Regions from separate parts of the Homo sapiens genome. Here regions 1 and 3 are each linked to region 2. Evidence: promoter capture Hi-C in 16 types of primary human blood cells and fetal thymus (Javierre and others, 2016). All regions are on one chromosome and are shown on one strand. Each heading gives the region's core, a stretch centred on a gene start or on the middle of the fragment in contact. The rest is flanking DNA. Distances are from core to core; before and after follow the strand shown.

What was found. The method cuts DNA at HindIII sites, captures the fragments that hold promoters and counts their contacts. A CHiCAGO score of 5 or more calls a contact.
Region 1: a fragment that was not itself captured here is called in contact with the fragment with the promoter of SFSWAP in region 2 in 6 of 17 cell types (megakaryocytes, M2 macrophages, M1 macrophages and 3 more); the score reaches 11.5 in megakaryocytes.
Region 3: a fragment that was not itself captured here is called in contact with the fragment with the promoter of SFSWAP in region 2 in 1 of 17 cell types (M2 macrophages); the score reaches 5.2 in M2 macrophages.

Annotation. Positions count from the first base shown.
Region 1 is chr12:131,099,683-131,103,136 of GRCh38, reverse strand. All of the region lies in intron 15 of ADGRD1 (adhesion G protein-coupled receptor D1), which reads right to left. Among named protein-coding and RNA genes, the nearest start is that of LINC01257, 64 kb to the left of the region's middle. The HindIII fragment of the contact is 196 bases long and covers 2,084-2,279 here.
Region 2 is chr12:131,708,644-131,712,577 of GRCh38, reverse strand. It overlaps SFSWAP (splicing factor SWAP), which reads right to left and starts at 1,488. Exons shown (of 18, transcript NM_004592.4): 1 at 1,131-1,488. The coding sequence starts at 1,348. RefSeq lists enhancers at 1,254-1,323, 1,414-1,703, 1,844-1,933. The HindIII fragment of the contact is 11,852 bases long and covers 1-2,953 here.
Region 3 is chr12:131,136,661-131,140,536 of GRCh38, reverse strand. ADGRD1 (adhesion G protein-coupled receptor D1) reads right to left here. Exons shown (of 25, transcript NM_198827.5): 23 at 3,523-3,564; 24 at 2,308-2,400; 25 at 1-1,369. The coding sequence ends at 1,274. Among named protein-coding and RNA genes, the nearest start is that of LINC01257, 26 kb to the left of the region's middle. The HindIII fragment of the contact is 9,971 bases long and covers 1-3,876 here.

The DNA of each region.
Region 1 (3,454 bases), core at 932-3,431, 610 kb after region 2:
GCACAACTTCCAATTTCCCAGGGGCTGGACTTCCCTCTCCACGGACGTTGTGGCTATCACGGGAAAGGTGGGCACTGCGTGGCCAGGGCCAGGGAGACGGAAGAATCCCCCTTCCAGGTTCATGATGCCCCAGGGAGAGAGGAGGGGCAGTCACAGGGGAGCCCATCAGTATCCCTGAGGATGAGAGGGAACTTTGAAGAAATGGGGCCCCCGTCCCCTCAGGAGAATGGCTGCGGTTTCTTGTTCTTGTTTCTGGTTATTGCAGAATCATGCAGTTAGGGGTAGGAGAGCCCCACTACTCCTTCTCCCATGGATAAACCTTTTTCCTTCAACTCCTGGGCCTGGCCTCCCATATTTGAGAAGACCTTCAGGCTGTTGACCTCTGACCCCTGGGAATCACAGCCATGCCCGTGGGCTTCCCTGCAGCAGGTGCCACGATGTCCCCTGGGTGTGTGCCTCCATCTTGGCTTCCCCTGACCCTCATGGGCTCTCCTGCACTGGGCTTGAGGAACTCAAGGTGGAGACTTTGGTGAACTCACACCGACTCTGCCCAGAGCCCACTCCCTATCGCTGCCTGGCAACACCCAGGGCACCTGGGACGCTGTGGGCGAACAGGGGCCTCCCGGGGGCCCGAGGCTGCCCAGTGCTGCCCATCTCTGCTCCACCAGGTGGGAGCTGAGGTCACAGGCATCTTCTGCCAGCAGAAGGGGCCTTGTGGGAGGGGTAGGCACTCATCAGTCACCTGCCGAGTATGTTTGGCAAAACAAGTTCCTCAACAGGCGGGTGCTGCCAGTGCATTCCCACCGCAGCATTCTCGGCAATGGAAACAAACATCTCCACCTGCAGACCGACGGGCCAAGAGCTACTCCCATTAATCGCATAGCCGCGGTGGGTGAAGGGAACTCAGTTTCTAGGCCACATTCCCCACGCTAAGTGTGTGACACTCCAGTTTCCGCATGACATTATTAGCAAATTGTCCATGAAATGATGTTTCTGCTTTCAGATAAGTTTGGAAAAAGCTCCATTCTCTGCACCCCTTAAAAGACTTTTTGGATGAATATAAAGCCACTTAAGAGTTCTGAGGATTCTGCAGGTAAAATAAACCCCCCTGTTCAGCTATGTTCAACTTGGCATCTCTTAAACTCTTTGGAGGAGGAAGGGAAGAGACCCAATGACAGCAATAGAGATGTGGTTTAAGAAGTGCTGTTTTAGAGGAAGTGAGATGTTTCAGAAACTAAGAATAAAACCAAATACAGGACACACTGACATTATACTGGATATGCAATCTTTCTAAGACAACTGAAAAGTCTTGTCTCTCACACTGATCTCTGCCTAGAGATGGAAGTAAGGGTCAGTTACAAGAGTTTTGGGCCTCAGCAGAGGGAATGGTTCTTGGAAACGAACGTCCAGCTCTTCAGCAGTTACCAAACTGAATTCAGTTAAAAACCAATGGAGGCCAGACACAGTGGCTCACGCCTGTAATCACTCTGGGAGGCCGAGGCGGGCAGATCACCTGAGGCGAGGAGTTTGAGACCAGTCTGGCCAACATGGTGAAATCCCGTCTCTCCTAAAAATACAAAAATTAGCCAGACATGATGGCCCACACCTGTAATCCCAGCTACTCAGGAGGCTGAGGCAGGAGAATCACTTGAACCCGGGAGGTGAAGGTTGCAGTGAGCCGAAATCGTGCCACTTGCACTCCAGCCTGGGCGACAGAGCCAGACTCCATCTCAAAAAAAAAAAAAAAAAAAAAAAAAAAGAAAGAAAGAAAAAGAAAAAAAATAAAAGAAAGAAAAGAAGAAAAATCAGTGGAAACACTGCTAGTAAAGGAAAGAAAGCAGTGGTGTCCAAAAGCCTGCCTGGCCCACTGCCCTGGGAAGCCCCCCAAGAGATGCACCCCACACAGGTCTCCACCCCACAAAGCCCTGGCTCCTCCCCACCCCTGATCATCTCTGCTCTACCCAAGTCATCTCATGTCCCACCAGAGGGATGCATATCACTCTCGGACACCATAGCTGCATTTCATGGGGCATCGTCTCTCCCCCAGGGACACGGGAAGCCCTGAGGATGCATTAGGGAAGCTTTTCCTACCTCATCTCGCAGCTCTAAGAACAGCAGTGAGCAGTACTGGGAACAATGGTAACCAGAGGTATTTGCTGAAGGCGTCAGGGGAGAAAGAGCCCTCACATCTACCCATCTGACTCTGCCACTGATTCAACAGACAGATTTCCTAAATCTACATCACTGATTAATATCTTTTAAATTGAGAAAATAAAGCTTTAGCTCATCTATTTGCAAATGCAGTGAGGTTCCAGTGGGCTGACATGAGAGTTCGCTGCACACTGGGCTGCAGTTGGTCAGCCAACTCTCTAAAACATCTTAATCTCCGTTCTTGGCCACCCATTCTACTGGGAGTTTCTGACAAATGGGAGTCTAGCCCTAGCCCCAGACCCACACCTACCCACTTATGCCTTAAGCCTTCCAACCATATTATCGATCAACCTTATCGCCAACCAACCATGCCATCAACCAACCCATTATCAATCAACCCACCATCAACCAACCCATCATCAATCAACCTTACCATTAACCAAGCCTACCATCAACCAACCTTACGTTCAAACAATGCATCATCAGCTAATCTGACTATAAACCAACTCCACCATCAACCAACCTTAACATCAACCAACCCATCATCAACCAACTCCACCATCAACTGACCTTACCAACAACCAACCCATCATCAACCAACTTCACCATCAACCAACCTGAACATCAACCAAACCGACCATGAACCAACCTTGCCATCAACCAACCCATCATCAACCAATCTACCAGCCAATTCCACCATCAGCCAAACCCACCATCAACCAACCTTACCTTCAAGTAATCCACTATCAACCAACTCTACCATCAACTGACGCATCATCAACCAAACTCATCATAAACTCACCTTCAACCAACCCACTACCAACTAACCTAACCATTAACCAACCCATTAACCAAATGCATCATAAACCAACCTATCAATCAACCTGATTATCAATCAAACCCATCATCAACCAACCCATCATCAACCAACTTTATCTTCAGCCAATCCTACCCTCAACCAACCTACTGTCAACCAACCCTATCTTCAACCAAACTTACCACCAGCAAACCTCACCATCAACCAACCCCACCATGAACCAACCCCACCATCAATCAAGTCTCTTTATCATGTACTTTTATCAAACCCACCCAAAGCCAGCATCATGCCAGGCACAATGGGGAGTACTAAAAAGAAAGACATATGGCTCTTCCCTTGAACTGAGCTAATAGCCTGACCAGGCAGCCTTGAAATGATTGTAAGAAACATAAGGCCAGACATATTGGAGGGTCACATGGTACATGGTGCTTGAGTTATAAGGTGAGCCCATAGGTAAAAATGATAGATGATCAAAATGACCTTTGA
Region 2 (3,934 bases), core at 239-2,738:
GAGGTCATCCCTACAGTCATGCTCCAGGGCTATGAAGAATCCAGTTTTAATGGTCTCAAACGATGGGCTTTCTTCACGTGGAGAGACTATTCCACAGTTTAATGGTTGGTCATGGTTAGCTTTTCAGTCCGGGCCCCAGAAGTAGCCGAACAGGCAAAAAAGAAAAAAAACCACCCCACAACAACCCCAAAACCCAGAGACGAGGGGAAGGGGGATTGAAAAAATGGGAAGAAAGAGGGGAGCAAACCACCTACATCATGTAATGTTATCCTTTTCAAATCAAACGCCTTTAGAAATCCCTAATCCCAGGCCCCCACTGCCCATAATCGCTAGACACCCTCGAGTGACGACCTAAAGCAGGTTTGATTTGAAAAGAAACAACACATCTATATCCCAGCTCCACCCTTCAGTCTTAAGAGACAGTGAAACCAGCCCTAAGAACACTATCTCTTCCAAGAGCAAGGCCAGGGTCCGCACGAAGTCAAGTGGCCACCAACTGACGGGCAACTTTGCTCACTACCTCAATCTGTCAAACTCGTCGGATTATCACCGGGAAATCAAACGTCATGCCGGCAAAGTACGGGCGCTCCACTGAGGGCTCTGGGGGCATAACAGGTTAAGGCTAACTCACAGGTCCAAGAGACACTTCTAGCCACTGTCTCAGTGAGCGGCGGTTCGGAAGAATAAAGGCACGCCTCCCAGGGTACCCTCCCAGTACACCGAGCAGTGAGAGCGCGGCAAGTAGAAAAGCAGCGCACGACCCCATGGCATCGCCGGGCGGCAGGCCCAGGTGCACTCAGGAAAAGACCCTGGGCACTGGCTGCTTTCACCGCGCGGAATCGCCAACTGCAGCCCAGCGACAGGGTGAGGGGTCGAGAGGGGCTGCGGGACCAGAGACGATCCCTCCGGAGACGGACGCGGCACGCAATTCCAGCCAGTGCCTTAGGGCAGGTTTCACCGTCCCCCTCCCCACCAGAACACCAGGAGGAGGTGGGGACAGGGGAGGGGGTGTCCCCCAGATCCCCGCTGGCTCCAGAAAACTCTCTGCAGTCCTTGCAGTCAAGTCAACATCAGACGAGATCAAGCGGGTGAGGGAAGGGAAGGATCGACGGGTGGGGAGAGGAACCGACCTGTCGATGAGGATCTTGTGGTCCCCCATCCAGGGGATGAGGTGCTGTCCCTGTTCCTGAGCCAGGGCCCGCTCGTCGTCCCGGAACAGCTTGCAGGCATAGCCGAAAACCAAGAGCTCCACTCGGCTGCCCCCACCGCCGGCACCGCCTGGCCCGGCCTCCTCCTTCGCGCCGCTTTTCCTCTCGGGTTTGGCGCGGCCCCCGCTCGCGCCGTACATGACAGCGTCCCCGGCGTCCAGGCTGGTCCTCTTCTGTGCCGCGCGACGTCCCTGATACCTCCACTTGGCCTACCCCTTCAGTCAAAGACCCCGCATCCCGTACCCAACCTCAACACCGCCGCCATAGCGGGCCACAAAATGGTGGAGGGGCAGCTTCCGGCAGGAGAGCCCGCATTTCCGGCGAGCGGACCGGCAGATTCGCCTAGGCTTGGAGCTCTTTTAGCCGCTAGGAAATATTTTGGCTTTAATTTTCGCATTCAGGTGTGCCGCCACAATAGGCGCTGCTGTATTCAGTGGAAAGTGCAATTTTAATGTCCGTTTTATCGGGCAGCCGTCAGGACGTGGCGAAAGCGCAGCGTGGGATCGCGCGCCGGCTTCCGCTGCGGCCAGTCGGGCGGCGACGGAGTCGGAGGGAGGGGCCCGGCGCGCTCTGGGCCTTGGGCGAGTCCTCGTGGGTGGCGGGTTGCTGCAGCCTGCCACATGTGTGGAGGCCTCGGGTCCACCCCGAGCCTCCGCGCCCCTCACCATGTCCGAGTCGCTGGGGCCGTGCGTGCTCTGCCCAGGGTGGCGATGTCCTTTTCCTTGGCCCCGTTTCCTTCTCCATCCCTAGGGGGACTTGGTCCCCGACCCGCCCACCTTTGAAGGTTTCCGAGGCAGCAGAGGCCCCTGCGCTGCAAATCACTCGCGGGTGGCGAGATTTCGGAAACCTGAGACCCTTGTCGCCGGGAGATGGTCTGGCGGGGCAGGGAGACCCCAGTCTGGAGACTGGCCACCTGGATACGGTGCAATTTTGCTTGGTGTGTTTCCTCCTGGGCCGCAGTTTTCCCATCGGTGGTTCCATTAGGATCTTTCGGTCCCTTTTAGCTCAGTAATTTCAGGTCAGACAAAGGGCCTGGAGTGCAAAATCTTAGGCTTTGGGATGGGATGGGATATCCCCATGTTTGCCCTTGAGTGGAAAACGATGACAGATCGTCTCCTTTCTGGGCCTCAGATCCCCTCTCCATAAAAATGGAATCTTTCTACCAGTGATGTTGAAATGAGATAATGTATATGAACCTTTAACTGATTTTTGGAAATTAAGAAACAGGCAGTTCCCACCAAACGTCTTTTGTTGTGGTTTCCCCTGACTGGGTCATGCTTCTGTCTTCATTTGCCAGGCTCCTTACCCAAGTTTAACTCAGTCATCCATTTCTCCACCTGGCCTTATGTGTCTACGTTGTCTGGAGTTTCCCCTCACTGGTGGCTAACTTGTGCCTTCCGATTTGTCTGTGTACCTCTCATCACCACCTTAGGTTACATCCTGTGTTCAGCATCCCACCAGAATTAGCTTTAAGAGATCAGGGACATTGTTGGGGTCACCTTAGCATCCTCAGCACCTAGAATGGTGCTTAGCACACTGTGGGCCAAATACTGGTTAATACCTGTAGAATGAGCCGGGCCAGCAGCTGAGCATGCGTGGCCAGGCCATCATCTTCCTATCTAACTCTACAAGACTGCTCTGCCACTGCTGAGGAAGATGTATGTGTCATGGTTACTTGATAAAAACACTGTTGTTTGCCCCCAGGCATTTACTAGTTTGTTTCGGTGCTGGGCTCCCTTCAAGCTTTCCCTTGGGTTCAGGTGTGGGGTGCTAAAGCAAATAAGGAGGCCATTAGCTTGAGATCAACTCTGTAACACCAGCTCCTATGCAAGCAAACCAAAACCCAATCAAGTAATTTTTCTGCTTCCGTGTTGGGTCTATAAAAGCTTGCTGCTCATGCTGCTGAGTGGAACTCTCTGAACCTCTTCTGCTTCTGCATGCTGCCTGATTCATGAATTGTTTTCTTGCTCGAATAAACTCGAATTTGTTTTGTGTAAAGTTTCTCTTTTAACAGTTCTGGTGTCAGAAATGGGATCTGAAGGCCCCCCTATTCCCTCAATGATGACCTCTGGGAACAGTGACTAAACAGATGCAGGTGCTTCATTGTGCAGGACAGTTCTCTGTATAGCCTTGGGCCTACCCACTTCTCCCTCCTTTTCCTTTGTAGTTTTCAAGAGTAACTGCATAACGAGCTGGGATGCAACATCCTGAGATAGGGAGGGACTGGCTGAAGTAGCCCAGGCTCTGTTCCAGTTCTCCCCTAGAAATAGAAGGTCCTTCAACACTTTAGCCCAGTGATTCATGTGACATGTGGTATGTAATCTGGGTGGGCTGCTCTTCGGGATCTCTTATCTGTGGTGTAAGTGAGGAATACGCAGTAGAGATTTCATCCACCTGGGCAACTTTCTGAGCTTTGGGGGGATTGGCTCACAGTGAGTCCTAGTCTTCGTCTCCTACCACCTGTCTATAGGTAATAAATGCACTACATGTAAATTGTTGCTTATGAGAATTCAGAACAGGTTGGTAACCAGTGCCCGTGGGCCTGCTTCACACACTGAGCCATTTGTGCTCAGGGCTTCTCACTGCACATTTGGAGGCCGCCACTTGTAGGCCCTGCTTGGATACAAACTCTACAACTTGTGTCAAATTCTTAAAGTTTATTTGAGCATTTTTGATCTGAGCTGGGTCCAGAAGTTACAACAGAAACTGGGACTGGATCCAGTACA
Region 3 (3,876 bases), core at 470-2,969, 570 kb after region 2:
CACCACGAGTGCTATCAGCACAGTATGAACCTCACAGCCCGTATCTCGGTGGTGTCTTAATTCACATCTATGATCCCAAACCTGTGTTCCACAGGATCATGCCCACACATGGGTCCATAACAATTATCCCATCTCCTCTGGGGCTGAATCTGAGTCCATAAATTTCCCTCAACACAGAAGACACGGCTGTCACCAGCCCTCCCTCTCCAGGTCAGTGGGGACTCAGCGCAGGTCGGTCTCATGGTGACCAGACGGAGCGCACTGTGCTACCTGCCGCGTGGTCTGCCCATTAGAAACTTCGTAGAGTGCCTGTGAGCCATGAGGAAGCCTCTGGGGAAAGCAGTGCCCTGGAAAATGCCCTCCACTTTCCACCTGGACACCAGGCACTGCGGGGACACGGCCAGCTCCTGTGGCCCAAGAACAACCAAGGAGGCTGGCACACGAGGGAGGAGGGCATCTTAAGGCCGAATTGGGGTCCAAAGAGGCAAAACTCACAGCGGATGGCCGAGAAGCTCCCCCAAGCACAGGCACCATCAGGCAGCCTCAAGGCCCAGAGCGGCTCTTCACGTGAGCAGAGGGGACCCCCCCAAGGACAGGGCAGAGGGGTCGCCCTCACCTGGAGAGTCAACGACTCCCGCCCACGGCTCGAGCTCGGCTTGGGCAGGGGCCCCCAACTGATGACACAGCACAGGTTGGCCCACGCCGGCACCACCTACAGAGACACACACCACGGCTAGCGCCGGCTGTGGGGAACTCACCACTCAGTGGATTCAGACACTGGGGACTCCGCATGCTCTTCCCCACACACCCCCAGCTGCCTGCGCCTGACTGAGGGTGCGTGGGGACCTGAACCACCTCTTTGGCCCTGAGTCCCCAAGCCCCACCAAGGCACAGAGGCTGAACATCCCCTCCTGGTGCTGCGGGACCGGCCCCGAGTGTCCTGGCCTCGCTGGGTCTGATGCTGAGTGATGAAGGGAGGCTCAAGGGCACCATCACAGTCAGGCCACTGTGTCCTGGGAATCCCCCGAGGAAGTCACTCAGCCCACGGGTGGATGCAAGGCAGGAGGGCCCACGCTGGCCTGGGCATCAGGCTGCTGGGCTGAGCAGTGTGCTCCGACAGCCAGAGTCACAGGGGAGGACAGCTGTCTCGGGGCCACAACACCCATGTCCAGACAGCAGCAAGGAGAGGGTCCATGGGCAAAGGTGGGGCATTTCATTCTGTTTGGGGGGGTGTGTTCTGAGCGCAGCCTGGCCTGGTTGGCAGCCTCCCGGCTCACACGGCTGACAGGTCGACGCGGTGGGCAGAGTGGCTGCTCTTGTCCCAAGGGCTGAGCTTGGTGGAGGCCATGCCTGGCCGGGTCCCATTCATCTGCAAAGCATAAAGGGATGAGCAGTGAAGGGCCTGCTCCCAGGGGGAGAGCCATAAGCCCAGTGAGTGCGGGGAGCATTGGGCCCATAGCTGCCCGAGGATTCTCCCTGCGGGAGGAAAGGTGCAGAGAGAAGGGAGCCCCCATGCTCCTGGGGGAGATGAGGATGTGCGCACTGTGGCGTCTCCAGCCGCACGGTTCTCCACGCTGACTCCCCTTAAGGGCACTGCAGGCGTGCTGTGCTGAGCGCTCACTCCCTCCTCTGCTCACCCATCTGCCCGGCACCCACGCTTTCACCCCCATGCATCTGTCCACGCTGCGTTCATTCCACGGTGACTCATGGAGCGTGCCACACACCCGGCGCAGCTGTAGCCGTGGGGCTAGAGCAGCCCATGAGCCAGCCAGCTCCCATGGAGCAGGGCAGACGTGGTCCCTAAGCAAATGGAAAATCACACAGCTGCGGGCGGGGGCGGAGTGCGAGAATGGGTGGGAGCGCCTTCATTGAGCACCGTGTGCGGGGAAGGACTTCCTGAGGATGGGACACCTGAGCAGGGCTCCAGCAGGGGGGAAGCAGCGGCACAGTGAGAACCCTAACAGGGCCTGCTCCAGACTGCCTGGGGGCCTGCCTGGGCTCTGGAGGGCGGCGGGGATGGGCCACCTCACGGTCAGTTGATCTCTAAGTCCTTCCATCCCTAAGTGAACACAAGAAGCCCTGACTCTTCGGGGTCAAGGGGTAGGGCTGTGGTGACTTCATCAGGACACAGGGCACTGTGTGGGGGACACAAGCCCAGAGCACGTGCAGCCTGCAGGCATGAGAGGGGGACAAAGACTGCTGGGCACCCGAAGCCACCTCTGCTGCCTGCACACCCCATCCTGCTGACAACCGAGCCTGGGGAAGGAGGATGGGCTGGGACCCTCGGTTTATGGAGGCTGCACTCACGAGGTCCGAGTGGAAGGGCTTCGCGTTGGAGGTGCGGGCAGAGCTGCTCGTGAGCGACCAGACCTTGGTTTTGTGCTTGAAGGCGGCTCTCACCTTGAAAGCGGGGAAGGGATCGTGAGAGCAATTTCAGAGGCTGCAACAGCCGTAACCAGAGGAGTCTGTGCCGGTGCAACTCCGGAACCAGATGTGCGAGGGAGGTTGGGATTTGGAAATATGAGTCGGAGCTGCTGGCTCCACAGCTGAGCTGTGCATCGCTGCTCTGTGGGGCAGAGCCAGGTTGTATCGCAGGCCAGGGAAGCTGGGTGTGGAGTGGCCTCTGCTGGGCTCCTCACACTCAGCAATGAATGTCCCGGGGTGAGTGTGAGAGAGAAGCAAATAAACAAATGCGTGGTGGGCAGGCAGGCGGGTGGGCGGGCGGGCTTCCATGGCTGCACTGCCTTCCTGCCACCGGGATCCACCTCAGGCCTTGCAAGGGGTCACTGGGCGTTGCGATCAAGGGGTCACTGGGCTTTGTGATCATGCAGCCCTTCTGCCCGGCCACCATCCTGCTCAGCGACTCTGCTCTGCCCTCCTTGGCCCACCTGGCCTGTCCTTGCAAACGGACACCGCCACTGAGATGGACCGGGCAGGACGGCCCCTCTGCCCTGGGCCCATTCCCCATCCCAAGGCAGCTCCCACAACCTCAGCCTGGTAGGGGCTCAAAGCTGACTTGGGAAAAGTTCTCCCACAGGAACAGAAGTCCTTGGGGCAGCCCCTACCTCCCCCCAGCCAAGTACATGGCAGGTGCCAGGCCCAGAGCAGCACCGAAAGAATAAGCCTGCGCTGGCTGCCCCAGAGTCCAAGGAGGCCACATCACAAAACTCCTCTTCCCAGCTCCCGTGGACAGAAGTCCTCCTTCTCACAGCCAGGCCAGCTTCCCCAAGGCCCTCGAGGAGGACTGTGGGGAGCACGCCTACATCTCACTCTCCCTAAGATGCAGTCGCCAATTCTCCAGGGAGAGAGGATGCTTGCATATCGCTTAGCAACTAGGCGGGGAGAGAAGAGCTGCTCAGCAGCAGGCCCCAGGGCACACAACTTGGCATCAGGAACGTGGCTGGCTCAGGATTTGAGTCCCAGACACCACCCTGACAGGGCAGCGCTGTTCCTGCTCCTGTGACCTTTCGGAAAGGAAAAGCCAGCTGCACCTGCACCTGCCAGCAAGCAGAGCGGACGTACCTCTGAATTCAGGAGACAATGAAAGAGGAATATGAACAGTCCCTGGGAAGAAAGGGAAGAAACGCAGAGATTAGAGCCCTTTGCACGTAGTTAGGAACACTGGAGGTTCCTCCCATGCAGCCTGGGAGTGGCACTGGCACCGCACACTGTGACACCAGGTCCCATGACCTGGGGCCCGTGAGGACGGAGAGGCGTCCTGGGTCCCACCATGATCCAACCTAGAATCAGGCAGCTGCTCGGACCGAGTTCAGAGAGGGGGTGCTGCGTGGGCATAGGTGCGGCAGCAGGTGGGTTCCCAGGCAGGCTCAGCGTGGGCAAGGGCAGGCACTTCCGGAAGACGTGCCACTGGCCTGC